2 separate regions of the Homo sapiens genome follow, and region 2 is linked to region 1. Evidence: promoter capture Hi-C in 16 types of primary human blood cells and fetal thymus (Javierre and others, 2016). All regions are on one chromosome and are shown on one strand. Each heading gives the region's core, a stretch centred on a gene start or on the middle of the fragment in contact. The rest is flanking DNA. Distances are from core to core; before and after follow the strand shown. Region 1 holds the start of GARIN4 (golgi associated RAB2 interactor family member 4). Region 2 overlaps DTL (denticleless E3 ubiquitin protein ligase adapter).

Region 1 (6,588 bases), core at 3,839-6,338:
CTGAACTGAAGGCTCAGATTGAGGAGCTCAAGAACGAGAAGCAGCATTTGATATACATGCTCAACCTTCATCGGCCCACGTGTATTGTCCGGGCTCAGAATGGGAGGACTCCAGAAGATGAGAGAAACCTCTTTATCCAACAGATAAAAGAAGGAACATTGCAGAGCTAAGCAGTCGTGGTATGGGGGCGACTGGGGAGTCCTCATTGAATCCTCATTTTATACCCAAAACCCTGAAGCCATTGGAGAGCTGTCTTCCTGTGTACCTCTAGAATCCCAGCAGCAGAGAACCATCAAGGCGGGAGGGCCTGCAGTGATTCAGCAGGCCCTTCCCATTCTGCCCCAGAGTGGGTCTTGGACCAGGGCAAGTGCATCTTTGCCTCAACTCCAGGATTTAGGCCTTAACACACTGGCCATTCTTATGTTCCAGATGGCCCCCAGCTGGTGTCCTGCCCGCCTTTCATCTGGATTCTACAAAAAACCAGGATGCCCACCGTTAGGATTCAGGCAGCAGTGTCTGTACCTCGGGTGGGAGGGATGGGGCCATCTCCTTCACCGTGGCTACCATTGTCACTCGTAGGGGATGTGGAGTGAGAACAGCATTTAGTGAAGTTGTGCAACGGCCAGGGTTGTGCTTTCTAGCAAATATGCTGTTATGTCCAGAAATTGTGTGTGCAAGAAAACTAGGCAATGTACTCTTCCGATGTTTGTGTCACACAACACTGATGTGACTTTTATATGCTTTTTCTCAGATCTGGTTTCTAAGAGTTTTGGGGGGCGGGGCTGTCACCACGTGCAGTATCTCAAGATATTCAGGTGGCCAGAAGAGCTTGTCAGCAAGAGGAGGACAGAATTCTCCCAGCGTTAACACAAAATCCATGGGCAGTATGATGGCAGGTCCTCTGTTGCAAACTCAGTTCCAAAGTCACAGGAAGAAAGCAGAAAGTTCAACTTCCAAAGGGTTAGGACTCTCCACTCAATGTCTTAGGTCAGGAGTTGTGTCTAGGCTGGAAGAGCCAAAGAATATTCCATTTTCCTTTCCTTGTGGTTGAAAACCACAGTCAGTGGAGAGATGTTTGGAAACCACAGTCAGTGGAGCCTGGGTGGTACCCAGGCTTTAGCATTATTGGATGTCAATAGCATTGTTTTTGTCATGTAGCTGTTTTAAGAAATCTGGCCCAGGGTGTTTGCAGCTGTGAGAAGTCACTCACACTGGCCACAAGGACGCTGGCTACTGTCTATTAAAATTCTGATGTTTCTGTGAAATTCTCAGAGTGTTTAATTGTACTCAATGGTATCATTACAATTTTCTGTAAGAGAAAATATTACTTATTTATCCTAGTATTCCTAACCTGTCAGAATAATAAATATTGGAACCAAGACATGGTAAACATGTGTTGTGCTGGTTTCTGTTCATTTAAATCTGTCGGTTGCTGAGACCTAGCGATTCCCTGCCTTTCCCTCCCCATTATGGGGGGTGCCTAGCTTTAAACTTCTCCAGATGTCATCCTTTGCTCTTTGGGGCATCACTAGATGGGATAGTTGGCTTTCAGTCCTGTTCCTCAGTCTTGGGCACCTGATGCTCAATTTTTCATTGACAAACCCTGAAACATGGCACCAAATATATCCTTTAGATCAACAGTTTGGTGTTTAGAATTTTGATGTACAACTGAATTGCTAGATACCTTAATTATTTTCTCTGAATGTACAAACACCTAAAACATACACCTGTTGTTCAGCTTGAACCTTTGACCCCTAACATTCTGCCACAGAACTCGTCTCAGAGAGTTACTCACTTGAGTTACATCTGTTTCATGTCTAAACGTGTGTCTCATTGTTGCAAATACATATCAGAAAAGAATGGGAAGGGGTACCGGAGGAAGAAAGAACCATTTTAGACAGCATGGGTGTGATAATTCAAAGAAAGACATTCCACTGAATTTCCTGGAATTTCCAGGGCGTATGATTCCTTTGGCCTGCAAGAGAGCCAGGCCCCCTTGCTTTTTGTGCTTCTCTATAACATTCACAGGCTAGACATAAAAACTGGCCACTCGCCGCTGGTGCCATTCTTCAGAGAAGAATGTCTTCGTTAAATGTCAGATTCGTACACATGAATTCTGTGCCTACTTCTTTGACCTCATGTATGTTTCCTTTAAATGATCACTTAAGACACAGGTGTCTTCATTTTACTCTCTGAATTGCACATCAGGGGTCTTTCCTAATCCATCAAGAGCCATCTGATGTTAATACCATTCAGCACTTCTTTCAGGGGATAATTTATGTTCCTTTTCTTGGTGGAGGGGAAAACATCCCTTGCATTTACCTTCTAGTTATGGGTAGAGGCACCAGCCACCAGCCATTATGAAACGCAAGACAATTTGTAAGCTGCCAGGAACAACAATGGATTAGAGAGGAAGGAAGTTGGGGGCGGATGGTGGCTATGGCAAGAAAACTTGATGTGTATGGTAAGTGTAAATGAAGGTCTATCACAAATGCATTAAAAATTGTTTTATGTAGCCAAGTTTATGTTTTGATACTTTAATTTTAAAAAGGATGATGACTATGCATTTACCATCAAGGCATTTAGTTTCTTTTGTTTCACATTTAGAGGAAAGGGAAGGTGGGGGGATCTGAGAGAATAAACTTAGATGGGGCCACCACCAATATCAAGCACCCGGTTTGGCAGTGTCTGCACTGAGCTGTCTCCTGTTGGTAGTGGTGATGTCACACTGCCAGGGTGTGGAAAGCCACCCTCCCTCCTCTCTCTTGCCTTCCACCTGCCCCTTTGGCTTTCCCTGAGAGCTGGCCTGACACCTGTTTCAGAGTCAAGAGCTTTTAAAGGGTTCTGGCCCAGGACAGGAGTTCTGGAATGGAATCTTTCCACTTTCTGTTAACTAAAATACTATTTTCCATCTGTATCCTAATTTCTCCCCATGGGCTTTGAATAAACCCTCAACACTCCAACCCATATCAAGCTTTCTCCTCTCTTCCCTGTCCCGTAACCTCTGGTTGGGTTCATGTACTGTTTCTTTGTGGCGTGAACAGCGTTTCCAATTAGAATCTGCCTGAAAGGAGGTCCCATTTGCCCACTGAGCATCCTGTGTTCTCATGGTGGCTCTAACTCCAGAAGATTTTAACACAGTCTCATCAAACACTGCTTTCAGGGAGGAATTTACACTGAGGTTAAAAGGACTGTTGAGGACTAATGCTAACAGAAGCTAACATTTATTGCGTAGGACAATACACTAAACACTTCACATGTATTATCCCATTTAATCCTCACAACAACTGCTACCCCCATTTTACAGATGAGGGAGTGGAGAGCTCAGTAACTTGCTCGAGGTCTCACAGTGGATCTTTCCAAAGCTGAAGCCTATGCTTGTTTTCAACAGCAATGATTTCAAACAAGAGTATATACATTTGTGTGTGTGTGCGTGGTAAGATATACAAAAAATTTGCCATTGTAACTATTTTGAAGTGTACAATTCAGTGCCATTAAGTACATTCACAATGCAGTGTAACCATTACTATCTAGTTCCAGAACTTTTTCACTGTCCCCAAAGGAAATCCTGTACCCATTAAGGAGTCACTCTTCATTCCCCTTCCTTCCAGTCTCTGGCAACCACTAATCTGTCTTCTGTTTCTATGGACTTGCCTGCGCTGGATATTTTATGTAAATAGCATCATACAATATGTGGCCTTTCGCACAATACGGCTGGCTTCTTTCACTTAGCATAATGTTTTCAAGTGTCAGCCTAGCGTATTATGTAATAGTACCTTATTTCTCTTTATGGCTGAATAGTATTCTGTTGTATGGATACTATACTTTTTGTTTATCCATTCATCAGTTGATAGACAGGTGTGTGTATGTTAAGAAACAGCTAGCCTTTATCTTCAAGAACTGAATCTCTAAGGTAGGATTTCAGGCCTGATGTCAAGCTGGGAGAAAAGAGAGTTGGAAGCAGGTGCTCCTTTTCAGGACTTCCAGGTAACAGCTTGGAAATTACTTATTCCTGGGCTCGCTCTGTGGGCATGGCAAGGCAGGAGGTATAGTAGCACCTGTTCCCCATGGATGTAAATGGCTTCCAAAGTACTTCTGCATAGTAGAGAGGTTAGTAGAGGAGGGCCTTTGATAGGCTCCTGGAATGTAAGCTCACACTTTCCATCCTACCCTCTTCTCCCGGCATTTCACAGGGTAGGGGGTAAGAAGAGGCACGGGGCAAACACTGGGGGCCTTGAGAAAATATTTGGGCTCCCTGACACAGGATGTTGGTATAAACATGATGGAGGAGAAATAGAGGTGGCCCCTTGGATAATTTAATCCCCCACTCAGCCCAGCCCCTTTCTGAAGTGGTTGTCCTGGATTCTCCATAACATGCATGCATACACACACACACACACACACACACACACAGAATTAATTATGCAACTTATTTGGCTTGCCCAAGCTTTTTTTGTAAGTTCTGTAGTGGTTCAGAAGGAAGATTTTAAAAGCAGCAAGACCTGTATTCAAATAATACCTCCACTGCCTACGAGTTCTACAAATGCAGGTATGTTTCACAACTTCAGGTTTTTTTTACCTGTAAGATGAGAAGCGTTGCAATAGTATCAAACTGGAATGGAGTTTGATACATAGTATGGCGCCTAGAAGAAGCAATCTCTCATGTTATTATTAAAGGTTGAGGTTATTACTAAAGATTTCCATTGTCAGCATGAACTGAGATTTTATGGAAGAGTGGGCTAAGAACCAAGACTGCGAATTCTAGGTTAAAAAAAAATTTAAACCGTGTACTCAAATGGTTCAAATTTATCCCATCATCTTGCGTTCCTGTAGACTCTGCCTAGTTGCTGAATCTTTTGAATTTGGGGTGAGGAAGGGGAAGCAACCACACATTTTCTCATTTGAAAAATTTTTATTTTGGCACCCACTTGAGTACCTGGCACGGTGGGGCTGTCCTCTATGGGGGCAATGGAGTATTAGTGAGGGCATTGTGGCCCTGGCCTGGGGGATGAGAACAAAGGGGTATGTGACAGCAACAGGTCACAAAGGGAAGCAGAAGATAAATATGGCTGCACAGGGGGTTTAGGCAGAGAGGGTCGTCACTTCCTGTCACTAGGACTACAGTTTGTAGTCTCTCTCAGGGAGAGAGACTACAAACTGTAATTAAAAAAATCAGAGGTGGAGGTCAGGGGGTTAGGTCCAGAAGAAAACCTCTCTGGAGCCCACCCTGCATCTCTACGTCTTGGAAGAGTCTGGAGTCCAGGCACCCTACAGCACCCCCCACAGCAATCATCCGTGCTCCCACCCCCACCCCGGCCTCTGGGAGGCTCTGAGGCAACAGTGGGGGCCTGTGGGGTGGGGTGGGATTGAGAGACCAGCTGCAGAGACATCTTTGTGACCCAGGAGCACCACTGGTCCCTCATCTGCCACCGAGGCCAAGGAAGACCCAGAGACCTGCCTCACCAGTGCTGCCGTTGTGCTGAAAGACAACCATGAATGCTGATTTTCTGCTGCCGTATTATACGGCCCAGAGTGGCTCCAGCATGAGCATGTTCAACACCACCATGGGGAAACTGCAGCGACAACTGTACAAGGGGGAGTACGATATATTCAAGTATGCACCGATATTTGAGAGCGACTTTATCCAGATCACCAAAAGGGGAGAAGTGATTGATGTGCACAACCGTGTCCGTATGGTGACCATGGGCATTGCACGTACCAGCCCCATCCTCCCACTCCCAGATGTCATGCTACTGGCACGACCGGCCACCGGCTGCGAAGAGTATGCTGGACATGGCCAGGCCACCAAGAGAAAAAAACGCAAGGCAGCAAAGAACTTAGAGCTCACCAGGCTTCTGCCCCTGAGGTTTGTACGGATCTCTGTTCAAGACCATGAGAAACAACAGCTGCGCCTGAAGTTCGCCACTGGCAGATCTTGCTATCTGCAATTGTGTCCCGCTCTTGACACACGGGATGACCTCTTTGCCTATTGGGAAAAACTAATTTACCTCTTGCGGCCACCCATGGAGAGTAACAGCAGTACCTGTGGCATTCCAGCTGAAGACATGATGTGGATGCCTGTGTTTCAGGAAGACAGGAGGAGCCTGGGAGCCGTGAACCTTCAAGGAAAGGGGGATCAGGACCAGGTCAGCATCCAAAGCCTCCACATGGTCTCTGAGGTGTGTGGGGCCACCTCTGCTGCTTATGCTGGAGGGGAGGGACTCCAAAATGACTTTAACAAACCCACTAATGTGCTCAATGCATCCATCCCCAAAACATCTACAGAACTTGCTGAGGAGCCAGCAACAGGGGGGATTAAAGAGGCAGCAGCAGCAGGGGCAGCTGCAGGGGCAGCAACAGGCACCGTAGCAGGTGCCTTGAGTGTGGCAGCAGCCAATTCTGCCCCTGGACAGGTGAGCGCAGCCATAGCTGGGGCGGCCACCATCGGTGCAGGAGGAAACAAAGGCAACATGGCCCTTGCAGGCACTGCCAGCATGGCTCCAAACAGCACGAAGGTGGCTGTGGCAGGGGCTGCAGGCAAGTCCTCAGAGCATGTTTCCAGCGCATCCATGAGCCTTTCCCGAGAGG
Region 2 (7,236 bases), core at 153-2,652, 560 kb before region 1:
TACGGGTGGAAGAGATGGCAACATTATGGTCTGGGATACCAGGTGCAACAAAAAAGGTTATCTAGATCTATTTTAATTTTGAGAGATTTGGGATTACCCTGTACTTAATTTTGAGTGAAAGAGTTAGTGATTTCATCTGATTACCACCAGGGGGCATGTACTCATAATTTCCCATTTCTGCTCACTGTTCCAGATCTCAGGATCTTCACTGAGTGTCCTGAGTGATAAATACATGAGTGTCACTGTTACAAGTATTACACTCATGTATTTATCTCATATTGTCTTCTGAATTATAATGCCATTTACCCACATTATTGATGGACTTAAAAATATTAATACGCAGCCTCACTGGTAAATGTCTTTATTTTGGTTTTTAAGAATTTTTTTTATTTTATTATTATTATTTTTTTTTTTTTTGAGATGGAGTCTCTGTCACCCAGGCTGGAGTGCAGTGGCGTGAACTTGGCTCACTGCACTCCCCACCCGCTGGGTTCCAGCAATTCCTCTAGCTCAGCCTCCTGAGTAGCTGGGATTACAGCCACCCGCCACCATGCCTGGCTAATTTTTGTATTTTTTTAATAGAAATGGGGTTTCACTATGTTGGCCAGGCTGGTCTCAAACTCCTGACCTCAAGTGATCTGCCCACCCTGGCCTCCCAAAGTGCTGAAATTACAGGCGTGAGTCACCAGGCCCAGCCTGATTTTAAAGAATTAGATTGAATTAAACATAAGCTCATGGTTGTCTCATGATGCTATTAAGCAGACGATGATTATCTCACTGTTCACTTTTAGTTAATTTATTAAAATTTTTTTTTGTGTCTGCATTTTAAAAAATTGGTAACATAGTTCTACATATTTTCAGGGGTATATGTGATATCTTGATACATATATAGAACATGAAATGATCAAATCAGGATAATTGGGATATCCATCACCTCAAACATTTATCTTTTCTTTGTGTTGGGAACATTACAATTCTTCTCTTCTGGTTTTTTGTTTCTTGTTTTTTTTTTTTTTGGAGACGGAGTCTCACTCTGTCACCCAGGCTGGAGTGCAGTGGCGTGATCTCATCTCGCTGCAACCTCCGCCTCCTGGGTTCAAGTAATTCTCCTACCTCAGCCTCTCAAGTAGCTGGGATTACAGGTGCATGCCACCACTCCCAGCTAGTTATGTATTTTTAGTACAGACAGGATTTCACCATGTTGGCCAGGCTGATCTGGAACTCCTGACCTCAGGCAATCTGCCTGCCTCAGCCTCCCATTCTTCTAGCTATTTTGAAATAAATAATAAAATTATTTAGAAAAATTTTAATAAACCTTATTTTGTAGAGCAGTTTTAGGTTCACAGCAAAACTGAGCAGAAAGTACAGAGAGTTCCCATATAGCCCCTGCCCTGCCCACACACAGACTTCCCCACTGACAACATCCTGTGCCTGAGTGGTACATTTGTTATAATCAGTTAACCTATGTCAACACATGCTGTCACTCAGAGTTTATAATTTACATCAGTGTTATATATTCTTAGTATTACACATTCTGTGGATATTGACAAATGTGTAATGACGTGCGTCCACCATTGTAGCATCATACACAATAGTTTCACTACTCTAGAAATCCTCTGTGCTCCAGTTATTCATCCCTACCTCCCTCTAAGCCCTGGCAACCACTGATCTTATTACTTCCCCCAGTCACATTTCCTCCATGTCATTTTATGGCTTTATCAAGCTCATTTCTTTCCAGTGCTGAATAATATTCCATTGTCTGGATGAACCAAAGTTTATCCATTCACCTACTGAAGGACATCTTGGTTGTTTCCAAGTTTTGGCAATTATTAAAGCTGTTATAAACATCTCTCCCTTTTTATACATTATAGTCTCACCACAGGAGATGTAGTGCAGCTGGCTCTGCTGGCTTCTAATTTCACCAACTTGGTCAAAAATTACTTAATATTGAAGTTTTATTTACACATGTTATATTCAGCATGTAAGAATCCTGAAACCTAAATTTCCTTGGAATATCTTTCAGATGGGTTTTATAGGCAAGTGAATCAAATCAGTGGAGCTCACAATACCTCAGACAAGCAAACCCCTTCAAAACCCAAGAAGAAACAGAATTCAAAAGGACTTGCTCCTTCTGTGGTAAGGTTTTACAGATGTATACATGTGTGCAGATCTTATCTGTAGGATAGAATAAATGGGAGGCTATTGATTAAGTGAATGAGAATCTTCATGATTCTCATTTGATATCAGTGGTTTATTGCTTATTCAGTACCTACATTTGTGGTTCTCAAATTTTAATTTTTGGTTCTTCTGAATTATAATGCCATTTACCTATATTATTGATGGAATTAAAATATATGTAGCCTCGTTGATAAATATCTTTAAATTTATTTTGGTTTTAAAGAATTAGATTGAATTAAACATAAGATGTTGTCTCATGCCATTAAGCAGAAAGTGGTTTTTTTTTTTACAATTTCAATATCTACATTTTAAAAAATTGATAACATAATTTTACATATTTTGGGGGGTACACTATGTATAATGATCAAATCAGGGTAATTGAGATAGCCATCACTTCAAATACTGTGTGCATCAGAGTTGCCTGAGGCACATGTTGAAAATTCACCTTACTCATCCCTAAAAATCTCTCTACACACACAGACACAAACACACACACACAAACACACCCCTATAGTATAGTGGAATTCATTAGGAAAAGTGGGGGAGGAGTAGTTTGAAGAAGCATATTAAGTACTGTGATGCAGTTTTCTAAGGGGAAAGAATACCTGTTGTTTTCGTAATACAAACTACAGAAAAATATGTTTTTTGTTTTGAGACAGAGTCTCGCTCTGTCACCCAGGCTGGAGTGCAGTGGCGCAATCTTGGCTCACTGCAAGCACCGCCTCCCAGGTTCACACCATTCTCCTGCCTCAGCCTCCCAAGTAGCTGGGACTACAGGTGCCCACCACCACGCCCAGCTAATTTTTTGTTTTTTTAGTAGAGACGGGGTTTCACCGTGTTAGCCAGGATAGCCTCAATCTCCTGACCTCGTGAGCCTCCCAAAGTGCTGGGATTACCGATGTGAGCCACCACGCCTGGCCAGCTTATTTTTAAGCATTTGACAAAATATTGTTAAATATATTGAGAAACACATGGGTAGAACATAGTACCACTCTAATAACTTACAGTCAGAGCTCAAACAATGCCCATAATATATCCTTTTTCTTTAAAAAATTGCCCTTTTTCTCACTTTAATGTAATTTTTTTTTCATATTCCTGGTGTGTAGGGTACAAGTTAATATTTTGGGGGAAGTATGACTGCTAAGACATTAAGACTTAAAACTATACACCGTGAACAGGACACAAGCATGAATGGAAGCAGATAGTAGAGGCCATATGAAGTTAAAACGAGTAGCATTTCAGACATTTAATCTGGTTCTGAGCCAAGATAACTTGTTAAGTAATAGCAATTAGGAGGTACGACTCCACTGGGCCTCTTTTTCAGGGCATGAAATAATCTTTTATTCATAATTCTTTTGATACTCCTATATGATAATCTAGGTAGACAGCAACATTTTAGAGATTAAACTGGCACAAGAAAGTTAAATAAGTTTCCTAAGGATACACACAGCATATTAGTAGGGCTGAGTCTAAGTAGATGCAGTAGGCTCAGACGAGCAAAATCTTTTAGTCACCAGTTTGTTTTTTGAGTATAAGTTGAAATATTAACACTGTATACTAAAACTTAATGATCCTTGCTAAAATTACCTCTTGGTCAGCATATATATCTGATCGAGATCATTAGACAAGACTTCATCTAAGTCAGTCTGGGGAGAAAAGTCGTTTTTTAGCACCTTGTTCCCTTGATGGTAAAGATTATGATGCCCAAGATAGAATCTTCTTCTTTTCTTGTGCTATCAGGATTTCCAGCAAAGTGTTACTGTGGTCCTCTTTCAAGACGAGAATACCTTAGTCTCAGCAGGAGCTGTGGATGGGTAAGAGTCTATTTCTTTTTTCTTCCGACGAGATCTTTTTTATGAGATTGTGATGAGGCAGTCACATAGTCTCATTATAATTGAATGTGTGTGCTTTCAACTGTCAACATAGCAAGTACCCCAACTGAGGAAAGGAGCTATAGATCACATTGGAAAATACCTAGTTGAAGGACTCTTGCTGGATAATTAAATGAAAGAATACATGTGTCACGCTTAGCACATTGTCTAGCACATAAGAGCAGTGGTAGCTGCTGTTGCTATCTTAGAAAAGAAGCTGGCTGGGTAGCTTGCTTGCCTTATGCAATATAATTTAGTCACTAATTCTCATTTTGAAGAGTAAAATTTCTGTTACTTTGGGTTTTGTCTTTTTCAGGTTTAAGAATATCCTAAAAGAAGAAATCTGATTCTGGGGATGTAATTGACATTTCTGGGAGTAATCTAACTAGATTGATGATAGTAAGGTCTAATGACTTTCACATACCTGTCATCCATGATTAGTCTGAATTCTTGGCTTCCAAATAAGTCTGCTCTGTGATGCTTGTTGATTGTGTTGTAGAATATTAATTCTATGCAAATGGAGACTCTTTCTTTTTAAGTTTCCTTCCTATTATATCTCTCAAGGCATCCTTCTCTTAAAATTTTTAATTTAAAAGATGATGGCTTACCAAACTAGGATTTCCATTGTGTCCTCTGGGCACTAAAACCCTCTGAACCAAATTCTCAGGCAGGAATGAAGGATTATCTAAAGGTTATTAGTTCTGCTTGTGAATGACTGTGAAAGCTTGCTCTGTTTGTTTCCAAGAATACTGTCATTTCATAGCAGGTCTGTGTTTTCAAGTTACCTTTATACTAGAAGTAGAGGATTAAGACAATTATCTCAATAGATGAAATGAAAAAATACTTTATTTCACAGAACAATTTGTTTAGATTATTTAAAGAGTTATGTATGGAGATATAACCACAGGGACAGAACTTGCTACTTATGATATCAAAAATATATGCAGAATATTAAAGGCTTAGGAAGTGTATTTTCTAAAAACAATGGAACAATTACTATCGGCACTCAACCTTCATCTTCCTTTTCCGTTCTCTTAGAGTAAACTCCAGTAACCCATCACTGGGTCAAATCACATCTGTTTCCGTTCTGTCAGAATTATAAGCCTGATATTGGAGACAACAGTATAAGATACTTTAATTTGTTTCCCAATGAAATATCCTTACTGTACCTAGTTAATGTGCCAGAGGAGTTAGATTAAAAGTCATTTCACATTTAGTGTAGTTGAAGTTGTTTGGGGTTGGAAGAAGGTCTACAAAATATTTATTTGCCTTGGTTTTTAGGATAATCAAAGTATGGGATTTACGTAAGAATTATACTGCTTATCGACAAGAACCCATAGCATCCAAGTCTTTCCTGTACCCAGGTAGCAGCACTCGAAAACTTGGTAAGCCTTTAATAGGTCTTTTGGGGGAGATAAGAGTTTTTGTTTAAAAAAAAAAAAAAAGGCTAATTTCCAGTAACATTGATATGAAAAATTCTAATATGTGAAGTTCAAAAGATAAAAACTCAGAAGAATGTTTTTGGTTTGTGTATATTTTGGGGACAAAGAATTCTGATGATGATTCTTATGAAATGATCTATTTTTGTCTCTACATTTTAACCTCAGATCTACTCACCATCATCAGGACGTGCTAACTTAAGTTTCCTTTTTCCAGGATATTCAAGTCTGATTTTGGATTCCACTGGCTCTACTTTATTTGCTAATTGCACAGACGATAACATCTACATGTTTAATATGACTGGGTTGAAGACTTCTCCAGGTAAGATATTAGTCATTCAAATTCTCTTACCAGGAAAGCATTATGGGCTTTTTTTGGTAATGATAATTTAATGGGCTTTCTTCTAAACTGAACTTATTAAGCCATATGAGGACTTTGGCATCTTTGATTACATCCAGTGATAATTTCATAAGTGTACATTCCTTGTGATGATTTCATAAGTTAGCTGAATTGTGCTTTACATGGTGACTTTATTTTAATAGAGAGTATCTCCTGAAATTATGCCCTTTGGCCTATATTTAGAATTCTCTCAATTTTTTATTTAATAAGCTGTGGAGTAGATAAAGTGCTTCTGCTCAGCTTTTTTCCTCTTTAGGGGCTGCTGGTTAAAATTAGGGGGCTGAAATTTTCATACCCCCAAAATAGTTTCAGCCTATCTCAGCCTTCTCCTTAATGTTAGAGGCCCTTTTATTTCTAGATGTTTTCCCCAGCCTCACCTTTTTTTTTTCCTCAAAACTTTAAAAATAGAATCTGATACTTAAAACTAATAAATAAATGATAGTTTTAAAAAGAAAACCCAAGTTTCTCAAGCATGCTTTCCTCTTTTTTTTAATCCTCTCCCCTCCCTCTTCCAAATCACCAGCCTCAGGCATGCTTTAAGAGAGTTATTTGGGTTACATTATTTTTAAGAACATCAATTTCTTAAGCAACATCTTAGTAGCCTGGTTATTCCTCATCTATAGATCTTTCAAAAACACTTTGAATTCCATAACCAATCCTCAGAGTTACCCAGTTTCCACTAAAGTAAAAAGTGCTGATAAACAAGAAATCTCAAGTACAGAACTTGTTTTATTTTATTTATAGATAGATGTAGATATAGATATAAATTTTTTTTTTTTTTTGAGACGGAGTTTCACTCTGTTGCCCAGGCTGGAGTGCAGTGGTTCGATCTCGGCTCACTGCACCCTCCGCCTCCTGGGTTCAAGCAATTCTCCTGCCTCAGCCTCCCAAGTAGCTGGGATTACAGGCGCCCGCCACCATGCCTGGCTAATTTTTGTATTTTTAGTAAAGGCAGGGTTTCACCTTGTTGGTCAGGCTGGTCTCGAACTCCTGACCTCATGATCCACCCACCTCAGCCTCCCAAAGTGCTGGGATTACAGGCGTGAGCCACCATGCCCGGCCCAGAACTTGTCATTTTAGCTGAGATCTTACAGAATTTTCCAAAGATCACCCCAAGCAATCTTATTAGGACTTTAGTATCGGTGGCAGCATCATAGTCTGCATTTCTGATACTTTGCACTGGGTCTAGTTTTCTCTAAACAGGAGCAATAGTATTTAGAAAAGGGAAGAGGTGTTTCTTTTGCTATTTTCCTTAATGGAATCTGAGCTTGGAGAGCTGCTAATTTAGTTAGTCAAATAAAATAGACTTTTCAACATCTTTCCTTGAAAGATAAAGCGTGATCCTGAT

Evidence for each region. The method cuts DNA at HindIII sites, captures the fragments that hold promoters and counts their contacts. A CHiCAGO score of 5 or more calls a contact.
Region 2: a fragment that was not itself captured here is called in contact with the fragment with the promoter of GARIN4 in region 1 in 1 of 17 cell types (M2 macrophages); the score reaches 6.2 in M2 macrophages.

Annotation. Positions count from the first base shown.
Region 1 is chr1:212,619,386-212,625,973 of GRCh38, forward strand. It overlaps GARIN4 (golgi associated RAB2 interactor family member 4), which reads left to right and starts at 5,089. Exons shown (of 1, transcript NM_153606.4): 1 at 5,089-6,588. The coding sequence starts at 5,493. It overlaps ATF3 (activating transcription factor 3), which reads left to right. Exons shown (of 4, transcript NM_001674.4): 4 at 1-1,390. The coding sequence ends at 170. RefSeq lists a silencer at 2,242-2,536 and an enhancer at 6,520-6,588. The HindIII fragment of the contact is 9,349 bases long and covers 4,446-6,588 here.
Region 2 is chr1:212,062,894-212,070,129 of GRCh38, forward strand. It overlaps DTL (denticleless E3 ubiquitin protein ligase adapter), which reads left to right. Exons shown (of 15, transcript NM_016448.4): 6 at 1-56; 7 at 2,024-2,136; 8 at 3,919-3,992; 9 at 5,331-5,434; 10 at 5,706-5,810. Among named protein-coding and RNA genes, the nearest start is that of MIR3122, 11 kb to the right of the region's middle. The HindIII fragment of the contact is 6,737 bases long and covers 1-4,771 here.